Regions from separate parts of the Homo sapiens genome. Here all the other regions are linked to region 1. Evidence: promoter capture Hi-C in 16 types of primary human blood cells and fetal thymus (Javierre and others, 2016). All regions are on one chromosome and are shown on one strand. The core of a region is centred on a gene start or on the middle of the fragment in contact, and the rest is flanking DNA. Distances in the headings are between cores, read along the strand shown.

Region 1 (3,355 bases), core at 856-3,355:
AAGAACTAGAATCATCTTGGTCCATTCCAAAATTTCTAAATAATTCAGAAGACAGAAAGAAGTGAGGCCTAACATACACACAAGGATAGACAGGATTTTGAACAGCCTTATGTGCCTTTTCTTAGAGATTTAAAAAAAAAAGGGCAGGCAATCCAAAGACATACTTAGGATCTTGAATTGACAAGATGTGGTGGTAATTCCCAGGTTTCTGGCTTGGAGAACAGATAGGGAAACTAGAAAGAAGAGTAAGGGGTCAATACTTTGGAAGTGAGTAAAGCAAAACAAAATTAAACAACGGAAAAAACACACAAAAATTATAGGTGAAATTTTGTTTTATACATTATACACAGTGCTCTACATAAATATAATCCTTATTATTGCCCCTGTAAATATGATCACTTTCATTTTCTGATGAGGAGATTCATGTGAAAGTTTAAAAAGCCTACCTAAAATAATACCGACAGAAAAGTGCTCTTGATCCCACCTATTCTATGCTACCAAACTGCTCTCCCAAAAGGCAGTTAGAAAAATTTCAATGCAAGTAGTATAGTGTAGTAGAAAAAAGTACCATGGAATTCAATTCAAAATAATTGAATTCAAAAGCAGTTTGGTAGGGCAGCTGGAGACTCAAGCGATTCTGCCTCAGCCTCCCGAGTAGCTGGGATTACAGGCACACATCACCATGCCTGGCTGATTTTTTTGTATTTTTGGTAGAGACGGGGTTTCACCAAGTTGGCCTCGAACTCCTGACCTCAAGTGATCCGCCCACCTTGGCCTCCCAGACTGCTGGGATTACAGGCATCTTTTTTTTTTTTTTTTTTTTTGAGATGGTGCCACACTCAGTCGCCCAGGATGGAGTGCAGCGGCGCGATCTCGGCTCACTGCAACCTCCACCTCCCGGGTTCAAGCAATTCTCAGCCTCCCCAGTAGCTGGGATTACAGGCGTGAGCCACCGCGCCCGGCCTAAAAAATTTCTTGAAGTAAACTCTGGTTTGACTAAAGCTTCTGCAAATATTTGCAAATGTAATTATTTTTAGAAACCAGTTTTGTCCTCATCTACCTTGCCTCAATTTCTAAAACAAATAAAAGTTAAGGAATTCAAAATACAAAAAGAGAAATGATCAAGAGGGGGCTGGCAAGCCTGTGAATTTACACCACTTTATGGGCACTGAAACACTACTACTCATAAAAGTCATATCCTTTCAGTATTTCTGATAAATTTCAAATGGCCTACTTCGAGGCATAAGTTAAAAGGTGCTACATGAATCTCTGGCTAACACAGTCAAGTTTTATGAACTACGTTGGAAAACAGGAGTCAAGGACGGCCTATGTTACCTAATTCGCAGCTGAACTAAAACTCTTTGAGCCAGACAGCTCTGCCTGTTACAAAAACAAAGGGCCTGTCTTCTCTGTCTCTCTCAACCCTCCACCCTCCAAAAAGAATCAGTTCCTTTTTACATAGCAATCAATGTCCACTTATCAGATTTCACGACCTGCTTCCCCAGAGTCAGTATCCCCAGGGTGGACTCAAACTTGTGACTCCAGGAAGGGGATAAGGAACATGAGCGCCCACAGGAATGGCTTCAAATCCAAGACTCGAAGGAAAGTGACACTACATAACTATCACAACTAGGAATGCAATGTCGCTGGAGGGCGTGTCCAGCAGGACGGGAGCGTAGCGCATCGCCGGGACAGGCCATTCATTAGCTGAGGGGGGCGGTAGGGACCCTGGCCACTCGGCCCTCTCCGCGCCGCCTCGCGCGAAGCCCGGCAGCCTCGGGGCCACAGAGTCCCCTCCCCACGGTCCCCCCGCGCCGCCGTCCGCAGCCACCCGCACCCTCCAGAAGGCGAATACTCTCCCCCTGCCCCCGGGCTGAAGGGAAGCCGCACCGCACGGTCGGGCAGCGCCAAGCCCTCCCTCACCAGTCGCTAGATGAAACTGCGCCGGTGGATTCCGCAGGGTCCACATAGAGCCACAAAGGGACTCATCCTCAGTGAAGGCAATAAGAGAAACCGAACGGCGCCAGAGGGGCCAGTCCCCAGACCCGGGTCAGTTCGGCAGGCGGCTGCAATACAGCCGCTACTACAGGAATCGGGAACGGGGATGTAGAGGAAGGGCCCGAGCGGGCGGTTCCCAGTAATAAGGCGGGCGCTGGTTGGCTGGGGCTCCTGTATGTCTCTTGATGATTGGCTGGTGCCTGCCCAGAAGGTTTCGCGTGGCAGCACCTCTGCCATGGCCTTTTCCCTGGCGCCCCAAAGGAACTTGACCTCGCCGGCCTTGGGGCCGCTGACTCAGGCCAGGGGCGGGGAAAAGAAAAAGGCCGCAGCGGGGAACTCTAGGCCAACAACGGTGATGGGAGTGTCCCTTTCAGGCCAGCCATCTCGTAGTTAGAAACGTCTCTCTAGGTAGCTGGAGACTCGCGGGGGAGGCTAAACCCGAGTGGAGAAGGAGACCTGGCAGGATGCCTTGGACACCCGGTCGCTACGCAGCAGAAGCCAAGTGCATAGGCGTCCTGCACAGAAGAGTTTCCTCCCATGGCCTTAGCAGTGGGGTTACTGCAAAGCCAAAGGTGTAGTCTCCGTAAACCCAGCCTCACCCCTCTCTGGATCTCCATACACCCGGATTATCTGGCAGTCACTCCCTTGGTCAGAAGGCGTCACTGCCCTCTTAGATCACCACCGTAGGACTAGCTGCCGACCCGGGTCACGCCACTCACTGCCTGACACCAGGCTTACACTAGGCTTTTTCCACTTGAACTCTGAATCTAAAGGCCATTTAGAAAGTGGTCAAGTGAAAAATGCTAGGAGGGACAGTAGCCAATAATCAATACTAGGTTACTGAATGGGAAACACACTGCTGCTGAATGCCTAATACGGTAAGCACTCAGTAAATGATTGTTCAAGGAGGTGTAGTGTGACTCAAAACAAACGACACTAAGAATCATGAGTTGGCTGTACAGCTCTGCCACGTTGAGTTTTACAAGCCACTGAGTCGACCTCATCTAATCTCTAAAAGAAAGGAGTTGCGCATGTCTTAATGCCCACTGAGCTCTGCTTGCTCTCTTTTGAAGCCTTTTTTGTGGGAGGGTAGGTTACTAGCCCAAAGCCACACAGCTGCTTAGCGAAAGAGAAAGGGAGACTAGGACCCAGCCCTCCTACTGCCCTTCCCAGCACATAATTGTTTCTTTGCTCTTTATTCTTAATGTCCTTCTACAAAACAAAAACCAGTTTGTAATGTCAAAATTGAGTGGTTTTGAAAATAAGCTTAAGTTGGCCGGGCGCGGTGGCTCACGCCTGTAATCCCAGCAATGTGGGAGGCCGAGGCGGGCGGATCACGAGGTCAGGAGATCGAGAC
Region 2 (3,355 bases), core at 442-2,941, 2.7 Mb before region 1:
AGAGTGTTAATAAAACACAAATAGTGTAAGCCAAAGGAGAGGAAGAACACAGCCAAGAACACAGAGTAAAAAATAGAAGACGGAAGACTGAAGACTGGATTATTGGGAAAAACAATAATGAAATATGGTGGGCCGAGGAAGAAGATCCCACAAAGGAGTTGAAGAATGACAGGCAGATGAAGAACCCAAGAGAAGGGTAGCATCTTTATTTAATGGGCTTCCATTGTGTCCTACAGAATTATAGTTCCACAATATGTGTAACGGAAGAGATGTGACTCACAAAAGAAGAAAAATCTCTTTTCCAAAGTCACAAACTACTTTTTGATATTTAAAATGATACTTTGTCAACTTAGAGAATCAAAACAAACTATTATTTCCTATAACTTATTTGGATAAACATACTAGCTAACATGGGAAATCACAAAGTGAAATATTTAAAATGGTAATATAGAATTTAAATGTGGAACAACTGGAAAAAAACATAGATTAAAATAACCATGCAAAAGAAAGAGGGAATGAGTAAAGAACTGGAAACATCGGTTTTACCATTCTAAAACACATATAGCCACTCCCTCTGCCAAAAACTAAATGATGACTTCTGATTGCAAAGATATCTCTAATGCAAGTTCTTAACGTGAAGATAAAGGAGGGGAATAAATATGTATGTGCCCAAGTATACTTTCCAAAGAACAAAGTGAACAAAAAAGGGGTTTATATCAGATGAACTGGACCAGGGCTCTTCACTGTTAAACACTATCCCACGGTCTATCTAACGTAAACATCACGTATCTGAGTACCGACTCCAACTCGAGTATGCCAAAAAGGCACTTTCTTTTTTCTTTTATTTCTAACCATCTTTACTCCTCTCATCCCATCCCTGAAGGATGTATAGAAGTATCACAGCCTGGACAAGTACGGCTTTCCACTCTAACCACAGTTTTAATAATAACACATCTATTATTATCCGAGAGCTACCAAAGCCTCCTTTTCCGTCTTGGCCCTTGGCCCTGCCCCTCCTCTCTAGTCTTGAGTCTCCACGGGCCTCCGGGGTTTTTGTTTTGTTTGTTTTAATAACAACCACTTCTCTAGATCCGCTTGCTCCCTTTCTTCTCTTCTCGGTCCCAGGAAGTAAATACCCTTTCCCAGCTCCTCTCCTCCTAACTTCCCAGTCCCCCCAGTGCCGGTCAACCTCCCTTCCTCGGGACCCTCTCAGAAGCCGAGCTCTTTACTCATTTTCCTAGGTCTTCCTTCTCCTCGCGGTCCCTACATCCTCCCCCATCCCTAATCCCTTCATCTTCCCTGCTTTAAGAACCACCCGCAGGCCCCCATCCACGAACGCCCCTTCACTAGCTACCAGACGCTTCAACCCAGCCTCACCTCGCACCTCCACCTCCCCCGCCGTCTCCACGCCCACTTCAAAGCCCACCTCCAACCCGCAGGCTCTTCAGCAGAGCCGATGCGGCGTCCCGCCTCCTTGCCTTCCCTCTTAGGACCAAACTCCCAGCTGGGGCCTCGGCGTCTGACCGCCAAAGAGCGGGTGCCTGGTTCCTGCGGAGGCTGCCGGGCGGGTGCCGAGGTTGCCGAGATGCGGGAGGTTTGAACACAAGGATGGGACAGAGGCGAGGATCGGGGCTCCTGGGTGGCAGCGGCGGTAACCTGGGCTCCAGGGTAACGGAGGCGGAGGCCTAGACTGCACTACGAAGAGACCGCAGCCAATCATGATGACTCTACCCGAGCTCCCATTGGCTTCTGTCTCCAGACGGCCCTTTTTATTGGCTTCAGTGGAACTGGAAGGCGGGACGGCGAGTGCGGGAGAAGGTCTCCATTGGCCGACCGCTCTAGCTGTAGCGGAGACCCCCAAGTAGGGAAATTGGGGCAAAACGCGGAGCGCTCCAGGCTCCTACGGGCTGTGCGGTGCCAGGGCTCGACTGCTGAGCGTCGTGGGCTCCGAGAGGGACGCGGGCGGAGGGCAAAGTGGGTTCATGATATGAATTGTAAAATTGGCGACTGCGTAATGTAAAACACTTAACAATTGCTTAGATTTCCTTTGGGAAATAACTTGCTTTTAAATTGTAAACAAATTACAAACAAACTGCTAGTGCTTCTGGATCTTCTTACCGAAATGGCTGATTCAGGAGGATGCGGGGTGAGTGCACTATTGTTCCTGCCTCGAGATCCTGGCTGTGAATCACCAACGAGCCGTGAGTTTGGCTTGAAAGTGATTTTTAGGTTTTGGAACGGGTTTGGGGTGGAATGGCATCTGAAATATTTGCACACAAGTTTTTTTTTTTTTTTTTTTTTTTTTTTTTTTTTTTTAAGGAACGTTTTGAGGAGCATGTCAGCCTATTGAGCGCTGATGTGTGACATATTTTCTCTTTTAGAAATGGCATTAATTGCGGGAGACAGGGAAGGTAAAAAAAAATCCTCTTTCGTGAGGGCTTTAAACTGCTCCGAGCCATCTGATTATCAAGGTGGTTTAACACTACTCTGGTGTTCTCACTATTGTTAATTTCTCACTGGCCTTTTTACCACCATTCTGTAGAGAATCTAATATTTGAAGGCAAATGCGTTTAATGAATCTTCTAACCATGAAGATTGGTAATTCCTGCTTCTCGCTCAACCTCGTTTTTCCACCTTTGCACTGTTTCAAAGCTTTCATTTTATCCTGTCAATACATTTTACTTCAAGTTACAGACTAACCCACCCAAACAATATTGTGATTAAATGTAATTTTCTGTATGCGAAATACATCTGTACAAGATGGCAGTCATCTGTTAGTGAAAATAAGATGAGTAATCCCTAAATTGCACGGAATTACTTTTCATCAATTCTTTAATCTGTCTCTGCTGACACTGTTAAAATAGCTCACTCGTTATTATGGACTCTGTTAGAATTAACATGTAAATGTATGGGTGGATTACTTATAAAGGAAGTTGCTAGGAAGAATCAGAAAACATACCGTATTTACGTGGACAAATGTCTGTCACAGGAGCGTCAGATCAGGATTGCTGAAGGAGAGCTGAGAATGAAACCACCATTTATTCAGCACTCAGAATGCTCCAGGCAGTGTAATCTCATTCCATCTTCATTCATGACTCCAGACAGGTATTGTTATTCATTGTTTATACTTGAGAAAGCAGATTCAGAGAAGTTAAAGTATCTACCACAAGGTACGAAAGTAGTAAGTAGTAATGCCAGAGTACAAGCCTAGGTCTGCTTCCAAATTTCGTGGTTTCGGATTTAGTGCCTTCATTGTGTTTCACCTACAGGTTAAGAAGTTGTTGGTAAGCAAGAAAATATTTAAGACGCTGGGAGAATCCAAAAAATTGTCTAGTTGTGTGTAACATAGTCTCAG
Region 3 (3,355 bases), core at 307-2,806, 2.2 Mb before region 1:
ATGCAATGTGTGGGGCTTGGCCTGTTATTATTTGGCAGATGCAAAGGCAGATACACTGAAAGGCTGAAATGGAATTGCTATTGGAAAGTGAACTAATCAAAAGGCACCTTGAAATCTGTACATTGATTTAGAAAATTTAAATTGCAACTTTTCTTAAATATGTAGTATGCAAATCATTGTACAATTGTATTCTGAAGAATAGTAGCAAGTGGTAATAATTTTTATTATCTCATGCCACCTGGTGTCTTGACCAAGTTACTACAATCCGTAATTGTGACTTTTTTGGGCGGGTGGTGGGGTTTGTTTTCTTCTGTTTTCCAGAGAGATAAGGCATCTTCCATAATTATGAATTCTTAATAAAAACAATCCTAGTTAATATTACTAGACTTTTCTTCTGGAACTGGCACATATACATCTTTTACATGTGTTTACACATGTAAATTAATTCAACAAATACTTATTGAGCGATTGGTATGTACAAGTAACTTGTATGTATCATGTGATTTTGTCATCATGACATCCTTCTAGGTAGTTTTAATGTTCTCTCCATGAGACTTGACGGGTTAAATGATACACTCAAGGTCATTCAGCTAGAAACAGAGCTGGTATCTAAACCAATTACTTATCTCACTGTGTCTATTATAGCATATAACAGTTAATTTACACTAACTTATTTGTACAGCCAGTTTTCTTTTACAAGATGATCCTTTGAATATAGCAACCCTATGAAGAATCTTTAATAGAGTTGCTTTCTTTGGGGCTGAATGTTTATTCCATTTTAATTTCTCTTTTAAGTTTTATCTTTTTGTTATATCTTTTAGTTATATCTCTTTGAAAGACTTTTTAGTGGTTGCTGTAGGAATTGTAAGGAATTATTGCTCTAGGGGTCTCATTCTTAACGTATCACTTCTACTTAGATTTAATATCATATTACTTCATGCAAACTGTAAGAACCTTGGAGAGTATAATTCCATTTATACTCCACCCTTTATCCTATTATTGTCTTATATTTTACATGTAAATACATTACAAACCCCACAACACAGTGTTATAATTTTTACTTCATTTATTTTATTTTTTTATTTTTGTTTAAAGATGGGGTCTTGCTATGTTGCCCAGGCTGGTCTTGAACTCCTGGGCTTAAGCAAACCTTCCACCTCAGTCTCCCAAAGCACTAGGATCATAAGAGTGAACCACCACATCCACCTATAGTTTTTACTTTAAATACTCATTTGTCTTTTAATGGAATTAAGACATGAAAAAAGATGATACCTTTTATATTTCCTCACCTACTTATGGCTTTTGATCCTTTTCACTCCTTTCATCTAAAAATCATTTCCTTTCTTTCATTTCTGGTCTGGTAATTTGATTCTTCTCTTTTTCTCTTGGTCAATCTAGCTTAAAGTTTGTCGATTTTTTTTGATGTTTTCAAAAAACCTAGCTCTTGTTTCCTTCCTTCTGATTGCTTTAGACTTAGTTTATTCTTTTTTCCCCCCGGTGTCTTAGGCCAGGAATTTGGGTTATTGGTTTGAGATCTTACTTCTTTTTAAATCAGGCATTTACAGTTGTAAATTTTCCTCTAAGCACTACTTTAGTTACATATGTTTTAATATGTTGTATCTTCATTTTTATCCATCTGTAAGTATTTTCTAATTTCTTGTATCAGTCTGTTGTCACACTCTTATGAAGAAATACCTGAGACTGGGTAATTCATAAAGAAAAGAGGTTTAATTGGCTCACAGTTCTGCGGGCTGTACAGGAAGCATGGCCGGGGAGGCCTCAAGAAACTTGCAATCATGGCAGAAGGTGAAGGGAAGCCAGCACATCTTATGTGGCTAGAGCAGGAGGAAGAGAGATGGGGGGAGGTGCTACACACTTTTTAAACAACCAGATCTTGTGATAACTCACTGTCGTGAAAGAACAGCACCATGGGGGGAAATCTGCCCCCACAATCCAATCACCTCCCACCAGGCCCCACCTCCAATATTTGGGATTACAATTTGACAAGAGACTTGGGCTGGGACACAGACCCAAACCATATCATTTCCCTTTGATTTATTTTTTGACCCATTTGATTTGTAATTTAATTCTTTATTCCATTGTGGTCAGAGGACATACTTTGCATTATTTCTATTCTCTTTTTCCTTTTTGTTTTAGAGATGGGGTCTCACAATATTGCACAGGCTGGAGTGCAGTGGCTATTTACAGGTGTAATCATAGTGTACTACAGCCTGAAATCCTGGGCTCAAGTGATTCTCTTGTCTCAGCCTCTTGAGTAGCTAAGGCTATAGGTGGACACCACCATGCATAACTCTTTCTATTATTTTAAATGTATTGAGGTTTACTTTATGGCCTAACACATACTGTATCTTGGAGAAGGTTCTATATACACCTGAGAAAAACATATAGTCTGGTGTTTTTAGGTGGAGTGTTCTATAAATACCTGTTAGGTCTAGTTGGTTTACAGTGTGTTTAAGTCTTCCATTTCCTTGCTGATTTTCTGCCTCGTTGTTCTACCCACTATTAAAGTGAGTTATTGTAGTTCCAACCATTGTTGTAGAATTGTCCATTTCTCCCATCATTTCTGTCAGTTTTTGCTCCGTGTATGTTGGTACTCTGTTGTTAGGTGCATATATGTTTAAAATTGCTTATATTTTCCTTATGAATTGACCCTTTTGTCTTCATAAAAGTATCCTTCTTTATCTGTAGAAACCGTATTTTTGTTTTAAAGTCTATTTTTTTCTAATATTAGTATAGCCTCTCTACCTTTCTCATGGCTGGTGCTTGCAAGATATATCTTTCTATTCTTTTACGTTTAAGTATTTGAATCTAAAGTGTGTCTTCTGTAGACAGCATTTATTTGGATCTTGATTTTTCATCCAGTTTAACAATCTCTGCTTTTTATTGTCTATGTTCTTTTTTTACCTCTGTTAAAATGATTACTTTTTCCATTTACCTCTGTTAAAATGATTACTTTTTCCTTTTTCAGTCTGTTGATATGGTGAATTGCATTGCTTGATTTTCAAATGTTAAATCAACCTTACATTCCTATGAATTCTTATGTCCATTTGGCCTTGTTATACTGTTATTTTTATATATTGCTTTATTATATTTGCTTTTTTAAAGATTTTTGCATCTATCCTCATGAGGAATATTTGTAGTTTTCTTTTCTTATAGTGTCTTTATCTGATTTTAATATTAGGTTAATATTATCATAAAATGAGTTGGAAAATATTACCCTCTCTTCTATATATTGGAAGATTTTTTTATATAATTGGCATTATTTCTTACTTAAATGTTTGGTAGAATTCACCAACGAAGCAATCTGGGCTTGAAGTTTTGTTTGTTGGGACAT

The links. Contacts are between HindIII fragments. The CHiCAGO score rates a contact against its expected background, and 5 or more counts as called.
Region 2: the fragment with the promoter of LCA5 here is called in contact with the fragment with the promoter of IBTK in region 1 in 4 of 17 cell types (activated CD4 T cells, non-activated CD4 T cells, total B cells and 1 more); the score reaches 11.3 in activated CD4 T cells.
Region 3: a fragment that was not itself captured here is called in contact with the fragment with the promoter of IBTK in region 1 in 1 of 17 cell types (activated CD4 T cells); the score reaches 6.1 in activated CD4 T cells.

Annotation. Positions count from the first base shown.
Region 1 is chr6:82,245,639-82,248,993 of GRCh38, forward strand. IBTK (inhibitor of Bruton tyrosine kinase) reads right to left here and starts at 2,106. Exons shown (of 29, transcript NM_015525.4): 1 at 1,924-2,106. RefSeq lists a silencer at 1,739-1,908. The HindIII fragment of the contact is 2,262 bases long and covers 1,001-3,262 here.
Region 2 is chr6:79,535,739-79,539,093 of GRCh38, forward strand. It overlaps LCA5 (lebercilin LCA5), which reads right to left and starts at 1,692. Exons shown (of 8, transcript NM_001122769.3): 1 at 1,427-1,692. It also overlaps a transcript of SH3BGRL2 not described here. RefSeq lists enhancers at 1,588-2,161, 2,156-2,205, 2,736-3,309. The HindIII fragment of the contact is 3,782 bases long and covers 1-2,650 here.
Region 3 is chr6:80,093,985-80,097,339 of GRCh38, forward strand. No RefSeq gene overlaps it. Among named protein-coding and RNA genes, the nearest start is that of BCKDHB, 11 kb to the right of the region's middle. The HindIII fragment of the contact is 3,734 bases long and covers 1-3,355 here.